Regions from separate parts of the Homo sapiens genome. Here region 2 is linked to region 1. The links are contacts of gene promoters, found by promoter capture Hi-C in blood cells and fetal thymus (Javierre and others, 2016). All regions are on one chromosome and are shown on one strand. The core of a region is centred on a gene start or on the middle of the fragment in contact, and the rest is flanking DNA. Distances in the headings are between cores, read along the strand shown. Region 1 holds the start of CCNQ (cyclin Q). Region 2 has its middle 18 kb from the start of PNMA5.

Region 1 (6,341 bases), core at 489-2,988:
CATGGGAGAATGTTTCCTTGCCTTTTCCAGCTTCTAGAGGAGGGCTGCATTCCTTGGTTGCTGGCCCCTTCCTCCATCTTCAAAGCTTCTAACTCTGCTTCTGTCCTCACGTGGCCTTCTCTGACGGTGACTCCTCCTGCCTTTGCCTTATAAGGATGGGTGTGGTTACACCCAGATAATCTAGGATGATCTCCCATCTTAAGGTCTCTAATCACATCTTCAAAATCTCTTTTGCTATATAAGATGACATTCACAGGTTCCAGGGATTAGGATAGGGACATCTTTGGGAAATCAATATTTAGCCTCCTACAAAGGACAAAGGATTGTGTAATACATTTTATAAAGAAGTCCCTCAGAAGGTCTAAACTTGTTATATAAAGACAATTCCTACCTGGGACCCCTCATTCCAGGAGATGCCAGATAAGGTGCTGTTACTGACATGACCTTCCAAGCTTTGTTTTACAGAGCAAACCCCAATTTACACGGACCCTCCGAGCAGACGGTAGCAGATGAGGTGTCACTGCCATCCTTCCCTAATAATAACTTTGCAACTCTTCTTGCAAATTACAGTAAATTTACATATCACTGGGATGAACAGTCCTGCAGCAGTCCTCAGACTCTCCGCCCACCTTGGGTAGAAAGCACATCTGCCCAACCCTTCTCCCCCAAGCAGTAAAGGTAGGAAATAACTACCCGCCAACTAACAGTATCTCCTATCAAGATACTGTTGATGGGCCGGACGAGGTAGCTCACGCCTGTAATCCCAGCACTTTGGGAGGGCGAGGCAACTGGATCACCTGAGGCCAGGAGTTCAAGACCAGCCTGGCCAACATGGTGAAACCCCGTCTCTACTAAAAATACAAACATTAGCCGGGTACGGTGGCACACACCTGTAATTCCAGCTACTCGGAAGCGTGAGGAAGGATAATTGCTTTAGTCCGGGAGACGGAGGTTGCAGTGAGCCGAGATCACGCCACTGCACTCCAGCCTGGCCAACAGAGCGAGACTCCGTCTCGAAAAAAAAAAAAATACTGTTGATGGCTGGATGGAAACGATGTTTCTACAGAGATCTTAGCTTAATCACCTCGCCTGGGAAGCGCGGAGCCCAACACTACTGTGGATGTCCTGGCAGGGTTCGGAACAGGAGCTGCAAGCAGCCTAGGTCCCCGGAGTGACAGGAACCCTCGGACAGCGTTCTCCAAAAGGCTCCGCGCGACTAAGCGCCATAAAGTCTACCGGAGTGCAGGGCCGCGGGTGCCGGCAGAAGGCGTGGCGCACTGCGCAGAGCTGCGGGCGCCCGGGCCGGTCTCCGCCTCGCTGGAGGCCCAACCCGGCCACGTCCTCTCCTAGGGCCTGCACACCGGTCCACGCCATGGGGATACCTCGCGGCTCACTGCTCAGCACACCGGGCGCGGCGCAAAGGCGGAGGTCCTCAGCCCCGAGCAGGGCTTCCCGGCCTCTGCTACGGTGAGCACTCCAGAAGGCCGGCCTGGCCAGCCGGGCCCGCTCCGCGAAGCGGGCCGCGGCGCCGCCTGTCCTGGCCTCCCCCGGCCGCGGTTACCTGCCTCCATGATGAACCTCGCCACTCGGAAGTGCACCCTGGCTTCGGGCGCCGGCTGCCCCTCCGGGCCCCGCGCTGCAGGCCCCCCTCCGCCGCCCTCCGGGGCTTCCATGAGGCGCCGCGGCACCGGCGGAAGGAGAGGCGGCCCCGGCGCGCAGAAGCCGGCAGAACTGGAGGTGCTCGCGGCGGGCGCTGCCGCCCCACCCGGCCGCGTCCGGCCCCGCCCCGCCCCGCCCCTCGCCGCCCCGCCCCGCCCCTCGCCGCCCCGCCCCGCCCCTCGCCGCCCCGCCGCTCCTCCGCCCCGCCCCGCCCCTCAGGGCCCTCGCCCAAGGGTGAGCGCGCGCTTGCGCCACAGACGCTGCCTGGCCGCGCGCGCAGGCGCAGGCGCAGGCGCAGAGGCCGACACCACGGGGCGGCTGGTATGTGTCCACCGGCCCCTAGGCGCCTCGAGCCCCGCCCCTGGGAGACGCAGGCTCCTCCCCGCGGAGCGAGAGCCCGCGGAGCTGCTCCGAGACCCGCGGGAGGGCACCTCCGGTCACCCGAGCCGCAAATCCCCGCCGTCCGAAGGGGGTGTCGCCCCGGGCTGTCGGCCCAGCGTGGCTTAGGCCAGGTACAACCGGCAGCGCCCGCCAAGCCCTGGGCTAGGGACGCCTGCGGGAGTTCACGGGGAGGCGCCGGTGTCTGAGGTCTGAGAAGACAGCGGCCACCGGAAAAGGTGCTAATGTTTGCAGACCCCGATCCATCGACACCCCAAGGAAATGCTGTGCACAAAATTCCAAGAGGGCCTTTTCGAATAGACGCATGAACGGTGTTTGTGTCTGGATCGTCCAGCCTCCCGGGATCGATTGGGAATCTAGCTTCTGCTTGCCTTTCCAGCGCGACGCACAGTAGGAGCCTAATAAATGTTTGCTGAATGAATGCTGAATATCGAACTCAGGTATTTACCATCTCATTTTTCATTCGCGTCTTCCACAAGCAGGAAATGGTGCATCAGGCTTTAGGGACATAGAACCCCAAAGGTACTCACTCCCAAGTTAGTGACAGTCACTGGAGTCATTCTGATACATTCAGATCATTGCTACAATTTCAGACAGCTGGCAATATGGAGAGGAAAAAGCTACTGCTCCCTAAACCCTTCTGCCCAGGCGCCTTGATCTCCTGATGGTGTGGAAGTCTCCACCTCTTACCCCCACCCCACACACCCAGTCCGGCCTCATTCTCCTTCCTCAGCACTTCCTGCCTCCACCAGCCTCCCCAAGTCCTCTCTCCATCCCAGCTGGGTTAGTTTCCTGGGGCTGCTGTAACAAATGACCACAAATTGGGTTGCTAAAAACAGCAGAAGTATATCCTCTCTCAATTCTGGAGGCCAGACACCTGAAATGGAGGTGACACTAGGGCTTTGCTCCCTCAAAGGCTCTGGCAGAGGATCAGTTCTTCCTTGCTCTTCCAGCTTCTGCAGCCTGAGTTCTTCCTGGGCTTGTGGCCCCATCACTCCAATCTGTGCCTCCGTCTCTACATGGCCTTCTCCCTGTCTTCTCGTCTGTCTCTTATAAGCACACCTGTCACTGGATTAGGGCCTACCTAGATAATCCAGGAGGAGCTCATCTTGACATCCTTATTTTCATTACATCTTGCAAAGGCCCTTCTGCTAAATAAGGTCACAGTAACAGGGATTAGGACACGGACACACCTTTTGGGGGCTGGCATTCACCCCACAATACCAGCCGCCAGAGCGAGCTTTCTAAAAGGCGAGGCTGAACAGGTCCTGCCCTGCCTAACACCCTCCGGAGTCCCTTCACCTTCAGGAGAAAATGTGAGGCCTTGACCTCACATGCTGGTCCTTGTGGAGTCACCCTATCAACTGACCAGCCTCGGATCTCACCACTTTGCCTCATGGCAGAGACCTTCGGCAGGTCCCCCAAAGGTTATGGTCTCCTGGCTGAACGTCTCTGCACGTATTCTGCCTGGTGAAGGAATTACCACTCCACTTCCATCACCCAGCTTGCTCTTGTCTGTATGTGCGCGGGTGTGCACGTGTGTGTGCATATGTGTGCGTGTGTGGACTGACTCAGGGTCCCCAGCTCCCTGTGCTGCTGACACCTGCCACGCCTTGAGCACCGTGTCTGTCTGCAAGCTGTGAGCAGCCCCACCCTCTTCCCCAGCCCAAGGCTGAAACCTAGGCAATGCCCAGAGGGCCCACCTCCCCTCAGCCCCGTTGGTGGAGGCCAGGTCCTGTGTTCCCCCAGACAGTGCCCTGGGCTGGACCAGCCACAGCTAGATCTGGAAGGCTCAAGCCCATGTTCCCTAAAGCAGCTATGGGCCTTGGGGGATCAGGCTGCTGCCTCTCAGCTTCCCCCACCACCACATCTGTGCACACTAACACACACCCCCATGCACACGCACACACATGCATCACACATCCCCCCCCCACATACACACATGCACACGTGCACATATGTGAACACCCCAATTCAAACAGTGCTTCCCTCTGGCCCCTGGTGGCCCGCCCATCCTCTAGGCACAACTCCTCCTTCTCCTCTGGGCCTTATGTGCTGAAAAGAGTCCGGGCTCAGCAAGTAAAAGGTGCCTGGGAATGTGAGCCGAGAGAATGACTCAATGAACACATGAATTTTAAAGCCCTGGGTCACCTCGGCGCAGTGGTTGATGAATGAATAATTCACTAGCCACCAACTGGAGCCAGCAAACCTTTAGGCAGCACCTCCTCTCCCACTGGCAAGCCTGTCCCCAGTGTCCCAAAGGTGGCATCCCCCGTCTCATCACCCCGGCTCAGATGGTGAGTTCCTTGAGGGCTGAAGCCTGGTTCTCAACCCCAGGCTCGACCCTGAGGTTGACAGTCACCATCAGAAGCGCGATTCTGTAATATTTGCCAACGCTTCCTTAGCTAATCCTCACCATGTGCCCATACATTGATTAAATCACAGCCTACCCCTCACAATAGCACTATTATGGAAAAGAGTGAGTGACTCATTTCAAGGAATAGGACTCGGGCTGAAGCTCAAAGGATGAGGCAGAGAAAGAGGGAAGAGGCATTTGGGGTCCAGAAGAGAGGCTGTGCACGGGCAGGGTCACTTGAAAGCCTGTGTGGTCTTCAAAAAGCATGGGCAATTTCCAAAGCACCCACCCTGCTCTGGTCTTCATCCTGGCAGCCTCATCAAAGTCCAGGCCTGCCACTTGTCCTTAGAAACTCCTCGCTGCCTGGGAACCTCCTGCCACAGTCACCTCTCCACTGTACCTTCCGAGCCAGCTCCCTGTCACCATCGGCAAGATCCACAGCCTCCATCTCTGTTCTCCCTCCCCGCTCCCCACTGCCTACCCACCCTTCATCTTTCTATTCAATTATTTATTTATTTATTTATTTATTTATTTATTGAGACAGATTCTCACTCTGCCGCCCAGGCTGGAGTGCAGTAGCATGATCTTGGCTCACTGTAACCTCCACCTCCCGGGTTCAGGTGATACTCCTGCCTCAGCCTCCTGAGTAGCTGGCATTACAGGCCAGGCGTGTGCCACCACACCCAGCTAATTTTTTGTATTTTTAGTAGAGACGGGGTTTCACCATGTTGGCCAGGCTGGTCTCAAACTCCTGACCTCAGGTGATTTGGCCACCTCGGCCTCCCAAAGTGCTGGAATTACAGGTGTGAGCCACAAAACCTGGTCAGATTGTAACTTTTTGGTGAATCTTCTGCCTGGTATTATTTTCTTTTTCAGCGATTTGAGTAACCAGGAGCTCAGTAGAGTAATTGAGCAAGCTCTGAGCATGCACGGGATCTTGGGTGTGACCAAGTTGGACCTAAGGAGAAGTGGTGCCAGTTGGGCATGAGGGCCGGAAAATCCACCCCAGCAATAGATGTGTGGGAGACTGAAACCAGATGAGTGGGTGCCAGGGCCAGGGAGGGAGCACAGGGAGTGACTGCTGATGGAGACAGGGGTGACAAGGATGTTCTGGAATTAGATAGTGGCAATGGTGGCACAACTCTGTGAATGCTTTAAGTGGGTGAATTTTATGGTATGTGAATGATATCTGAGTAAATCCATTATTTTTTAAAACTACCACATGCAATCGGGCCACTGAGGACAAAATCTTCTTATGGGGAGAAGGGGTTTCACAAGGAAGAGCTGGGAGACTGGCCAGCAAAGAAAGTCGGAGGGCAGAGCAGCTGGAAGAAGCGGGCAATGTTACGGAGCCAGGAAGCTCTCAGAAGGGCCAAGTGAATGCAAGGAGCTGAGAAACCCAGGGCGTCAGCAGGACAGCCACAGCAAGGGTGGCCGGGCTGTCCTGGGCCTCCGATAGCCCAGGGACGACTCCTGATAGCAAGGAGGCGGTGCGGGAGGGGACCAGAGTGGGGTGTACCCTCAAAGTCCTGCAACGAGGTCAGCGAGGTCACCTCTGAAACAAGGCTCCGCTGCGATGGTTGGAGATGGGGGATCCTCATTGTGGGGGCGCACAGCAGCCAGAGTGGGAGCTGATGGAAACACCTTTGCCCGAAATCTGTCTCCTAGGCAGCCCCTGAGCCCCTCCTGTGATGAGCAGCTGGCTCCCCGTCTCGGGTGGGTGAAGGCTCCTGCAGCAGGAGGCACCTTGTGGAAGCTCCTGTCCTGCAACCCCATGGGGACTCCACTCACAGCCACTGGTCCCACTGTGACCCTCTCGCTGGAGCAAAGCAGGAAAGCCACTGGCAAATGATTTGCAGTTCCATTCTCATACACGAGAACTCTAGAAGTTTCCACTTGCCCCAAAGAGCAACATTATGCTTTTACT
Region 2 (5,960 bases), core at 1,218-3,717, 590 kb before region 1:
TTTACTGTAATGCCAAGAGCCAAAGGGAATTTTAGATAGTTGTTAGTAATACATTTATTTATTTATTGGATAGGTGGAAGGCTTTTCCTGCCACACTGAGAGGGCTTCAGAAATAGTAAGAATCTTAATGGAGGAAATTATCCTCAGATTTGGGTTGCAATTCACCATCCAGAGCGATAATAGGAGTGCCTTTATTGCCAAGATAACCTAGGAGGTGTCCAAACAGCTGGAAATTAAATTACATGCCTCTTGGCAACCCTAGTCCATTGGAAAGACTGAAAAGATGAACCACACCCTAAAAAAAACACTGTTGCAAAAATTCGTCAGGAAACAAATCGGACATGGGACAAGGTATTGCCAGTTGCACTGCTTAGGATTAGAGTGGCCCCTAGAAGCGGGCTTCAATTAAGCCCTTATGAAATCTTGTATGGGAGACCCTGTCTATATTCTGAGCCACAAGGTAAACAGATAAGTGATTTAAAAATCAAAGAGTTGGACACTGTCAGGTATGTACAATCTTTGGATCTATCTTTAAATGCTGATATGATTTGGATCTGTGTCCTCACCCAAATCTCATGTTGAATTGTAATTCTCAGTGTCAGAGGTGGGGCCTGGTGGGAGGTGATTGGATCATGAGGGTGGTTTTCTCATGAATGGTTTAGCCTCATGGCCCTTGGAACTGTCCTTGTGATAGTGAATTTTTGCACTATCTGGTTGTTTAAAAGTGTGTGGCATATAGCATATGTTACTTGCTATATCATTCTAATTGCCCCTCTAGGAACCAGTAAACATGATTTCTGTTTCACATAGAGACATAACTCTATGGTTAGATTTTCCTAATCTCTGGCCTCTTCAGTAAATTTAACTGATTGTCGTGTATGTCATCCCAAACTGTTTTGGTTTCATGACCATACTGATCCTTTAATCATGCCTGTAACTAACTTTACAGCTGTTCCCAATTTTACCATAGAATATAATGAAAGGCCCTCTTGAGTGACCTATCAAGCAAACGGAGCAATCCTGGACCCTACATCTTCAGTTCCCTGCTTCTTTCTAACTCCTTTGTGGAGGGGTGTGGGATTTGCTCTATACTCTAAGGTTATGAACTGTTCTGAGCCTATTGATTTCACCATAATTAACCAATGGTTTAATTTCTTCTTTTCTTTTTAAATGAAGGCAAGTTTATTAGAAAAGTAAAAGAATAAAAGAATTGCTACTCCACAGACAGAGCAGCCCCAAGGGCTGCTGGTTGCTCATTTTTATGGTTATTTCTTGATGATATGCTAAACAAGGAGTGAATTATTCATGCCTCCCCTTTTTAGACCATATAGGGTAACTTCCTGACATCACCATGGCATTTGTAAACTGTCATGGCGCTGGCAGGAGTGTAGCAGTGAGAATGACCAGAAGTCACTCTCATCACCATCTTGTTTTTGGTGGGTTTGGGCCAGCTTCTTTACTGCAACCTGTTTTATCAGCAAGGTCTTTATGACCTGTATCTTGTGCTGACCTCCTGTCTCATCCTGTGACTTAGAATGTTTAACCATCTGGGAATGCAGCCCAGTAGGTCTCAGCCTCATTTTACCCAGCCCCTATTCAAGATGGAGTTGTTTTGGTTCAAATGCCTCTGACATTTCCCTGCTCCCTTTTACAAGAGAACCCTTAATCCTAAGGGTTGCAAAGGGATGAAAATCCATCTTCTGTAACTTCTTTATGCTGAACAGGGGAGATGATATTCCTACCTAACTACTGGGTCTCTTGCATTCAGGGTAGAGAGGAGTTCGGTTAGAAAGTGTCGGTATGTTGAAGGCCATTCATAACTCTTGAGTTTCAACAAAAGGTGATATCTGGAAGATTAATAAGTGTTCAGTTTAGGGAAACATTCAGTAAGCTTGTCCTGCATTCCTACACAAAGACTATAACAGCAATATATTCAACAACAGGAAAGCAAAATAAGTAAAATTATCTCTAGTAAATTAAATTAGAAAAGGCTTTCCATGAACTGGACAATTGTTGGAACCAAGTTGATATGGGGTTGCTAGCCCATCCCAATATGTGCCCAGAATTAGAATACAGATCCAGATTTTTACATCACCCATCCCTCTTCTTTCTTCTGAATAGCAGTCAGAGGTCACTGGTTTGTTCACAGGAATAAGCAGGGTTAGTCTAAATTGAAGAAAAAAGTCCCAGAACAACTGATGAGACTAGAATCTATTAACATGTGTACCACAGTGTTCGAAAGAGTTTTTCTATCTCCAGTCTCCCATTTTTATTAAAAACAAATCATGGTAAGACCAATTTACTTTCTTATACTTGGCCTGATCATTCATATAAAGTGCAGCAAGAATAATTATTTTTAAATTAGCTTTGATGGAACTCTGTTCCATCGAAAGAATCTCAGATAAGACTTTTTTTCCATTTTTTTTTGACAGAGTCTCGCTCTGTCACCCAGGCTGGAGTGCAGTGGCATGATCTTGGCTCACTGCAACCTCCCCTCCCGGGTTCAAGCAATTCTCCGCCTCAGCCTCCCAAGTAGCTGGGATTACAGGTGCCTGCCACCACACCCAGCTAATTTTTTGTATTTTTAGTAGAGATGGGGTTTCACCATCTTGGCCAGGCAGGTCTTGAACTCCTGACCCCGTGATCTACCCGCCTCCGCCTCTGCCTCCAAAAGTGCTGGGATTATAGGCGTGAGCCCTGAAGACTTTTTTTTTTTTTAAAGCCAAGCCCAGCTGTGGGTTTATACTCTCAAATACTTACGAGTTGGGTAAATTCCTCTTCTCTTGAGGTCCTAAGATAACTGGGGGCACCTGGGCCTGTGAGAAAGTGACATGCTTTACTTACCACGGGTCAGGAACCCTGTACAGGGACTGTATAGACAACCTATGAGGCCAGTTTTCCCAAGGGGCTTTTATTGGCTCTATAAGTCAAGTTTTTTTCCTTAAAGGAAAGCACCCTATTCTCGTCAAAGCCTTGGTAAAATAACCAGTTTCCCCATATGCTCCAAATTGTGTTCATAGGTGTATACTTTACTTAATTGTTAAAAGCTTTAAATAGCTCAAAAGTTTCCTTGACTCTGGAAAACAAAACAAAGGATCAGCAACATTTTAAGCAAACAGCCAAGATTACTTCAAACTTCTATTAGCGCAATACATGCAGTTAGCTCCTGTCCTGTTTGATATTCATGAACATTTCAGCTGTCCATGAGTCCTGAAAGTTTTTCCTCTATCTGAATGTCACACTCTCCAAAGTTATCAGAAAACCTGCATTTAATAACACTTGTTAGGGTTCTATAGGTGATTATAAAACCACCTTCTGAAGAGTATTAAAACAAGATAACAATTGTCTGTGGATGACAAAATTTTAGGACAGCCACTATTAAAGCCACAATGGACAAAAAAATTTTGATTACCTCTGTGGTATACAACAATTTTACATAGCAATTATAACTATTGATAACACACACTAAGTTATATCAGAATTATAGGAGCTTCCATAATTTTGGAATACATGCCAATAACATATTTATACAAACACAGCCCAAAGAAGGCCAAACACCATTTCATATTTGACAATGCTTCCTGTATGACTTTTATACCAAATAAGCCAAAAGTCACTTTTGGACTTTAGGTGACCTAATATCTAAAAGATTAATTAGGTCAGAAAAAGACATATTTTATAATTTGATTTTGGGAAGCTTGTCAAATATCAAAGGTTTAAAACACTAGATATCACAAAATAGAATCCCAGGTGACCATAAGTCATTCATTTTGCCAAAATAATAACTTAAAAAATTTTTAAAAGGCAAAACCCCTTACTCATGAAGAGGGAAGACCTAGCTTTCCAAACAATGTCTCTTTTCTTTCCCCTCTTTTCCTGTAGTTTATTTAAAAGGCAAACAAAAATCTTTCATTATTTTTTAATAAAACATGAAAATCCTGTTCAAGAGAGAAAGCCACATTTCACCCTTTCCATTAATGCACTATTGATGTTAAACCCAATTCTTAATAAAACCTTATACACAAATCTATCCAATTTTAAAGTCTCATCATAAAGTAAGATTCTTATAAACCCTTGAAAAATTTTTGTTAAAGAGCAGATGAGTGCTTTATGAAAAGCCTGTTGTGCTTTTATTCCAATGTTCAATTTACAGAAAAACTGAATACCCTTTAATGTTAGCCAATATGTTCACACACAGAATTTCTTTTACAAGATTAATTTTTCACAAACCTTCCACAACTTGCTCAAATCTTCAGCTTTTTCCTACCTAACTTAAAACAATCCTTTAACCTTCTAAAAAAAATCCACATTCTCATGCCTTCTTTTAATCTTTTACCAAAAACACATTTCACTTTCCTTACACACCTTGCTTGTAAAACTGTTTTTATTTCCCCAAAATTACTAAAGTAATGTGAACTAAAAGGCATTATGCTTTTTATTTTTCTGATAAAATATTTAAGCACTATTTTTAAGCCAATTAATCAAAGCTCTTTCATAAACATCACACACACAACACATATAAATACACAGACAGAAGAATAACCAGTAGTTGTTAAGATTTTTCATTTGCCAGTTTCTTAAGTTTCTTTTAAAAGATGCAGTTTGTAGGGCCTATTAAGCAGGCACAGCTGAAAGGCAAAAACAGATTCCCCAAAATTAAGGTCCCATTTTTATACCAGATCCTGGATCCCAAAAAGAGGGAATTAGCCCATCTCCCATGGGACCCTTATCTCTCAGTGGGGGAATATCTCCATACCTTCCAGGTGGCCAGGAGCATGCTTTTCTAATCCAAACATGCAAAGAGCCACATATTGCCTCATGACTGCCATTAGCCATCCATAAAAGTATATTTCCTACCTTGTTATTACACAGCAAAGCTCTCTTATAATGTGAAGTAATTTCTGATACCTCAAAAAGTAAAAAACGTCAGATAATGCAATGCAAAACAGAACAGAACCTTAGATTTGGAAAGGGATCTATCTGCTTTCAATTCCTTGGGTTTTACAAAGAAAACAGAGGAGGTTTTTTCCCAAAACAGGGTCTGTGGCACCTCCTCTGTTTTTCCTCAAGAAGTCCAGGCTATTAGAGCTTGAATATCCGCTTTTAATTAAGCTGACTTTTAACCATAATGCTCTTTTTAAAAAGTTCTTTTAAATTTCTTATTACCCAACTTTAGCCAGGCCAAATGACCAATATTTCTGGCTCAGAGAAAGGAAAATTCAAGACAGTTCTTGGAGGAGAAGAGAATTAAAAAATGGTAAATCTTACCCAGATATCAATCAGAAAGGACTCATTCCCTAAGCCAGGAATTGAATCCGGGCAGCCATTATAATACGGCAAAACCTTAGCTGCCGAGCTATAGCACTGGGCAGTTTCCACTCCTCTTCTCAGAAGGAGCCTAGGACAGCCAATTTTGAGCTTGCAAAAGTTTTTAACTGCTCGAGATAATGTTTAGGGCTAACTGATATGAACCCCAAAATTCCTGTTCCCTGGATGGCAGAGACCGAGAGAAGGTACTGCCACGTGTTACAAAGTCAAGCTCTCAAGGACATTTTTCAACATGTAGTCTCGGCATAAGCTGAAAGCATTCCCCTTGAGAATTGCAATGAGACAAGAATGCCCTCTCCCACCACTGCTATTCAACATAGCACTGGAAGTCCTCGCCAGAGCAATCAGGCAAGAGAAGTAAATAAAAGCATCCAAATAGGAAGAGAGGAAGTCAAACTATCTCTCTTCGCAAATGATATAATTTTAAACCAAGGAAACTCCGTAGTCTCTGCCCAAAGGCTCCTAGATCTGACAAACTACTTCAGCAAAGTTTCAGGATACAATAATCAGTAGTATTTCTAGACATCAATAACATCCAAGCTGAAAGCCCAGTGAAGAATGCAATCCCATTCACAATTGCCACAAAATGAAGAAAATGCCTATAGGGATACAGCTAACCAGGGAGGTGAAAG

Evidence for each region. The method cuts DNA at HindIII sites, captures the fragments that hold promoters and counts their contacts. A CHiCAGO score of 5 or more calls a contact.
Region 2: a fragment that was not itself captured here is called in contact with the fragment with the promoter of CCNQ in region 1 in 2 of 17 cell types (M2 macrophages and M1 macrophages); the score reaches 6.7 in M2 macrophages.

Annotation. Positions count from the first base shown.
Region 1 is chrX:153,597,401-153,603,741 of GRCh38, forward strand. CCNQ (cyclin Q) reads right to left here and starts at 1,739. Exons shown (of 5, transcript NM_152274.5): 1 at 1,562-1,739. The coding sequence starts at 1,673. It overlaps LOC105373383 (a long non-coding RNA gene), which reads left to right and starts at 1,940. Exons shown (of 1, transcript NR_131982.1): 1 at 1,940-2,493. RefSeq lists silencers at 1,450-1,809, 1,820-1,869, 1,970-2,109 and enhancers at 3,250-3,751, 3,752-4,251. The HindIII fragment of the contact is 8,000 bases long and covers 451-6,341 here.
Region 2 is chrX:153,009,039-153,014,998 of GRCh38, forward strand. No RefSeq gene overlaps it. Among named protein-coding and RNA genes, the nearest start is that of PNMA5, 18 kb to the left of the region's middle. The HindIII fragment of the contact is 1,156 bases long and covers 1,890-3,045 here.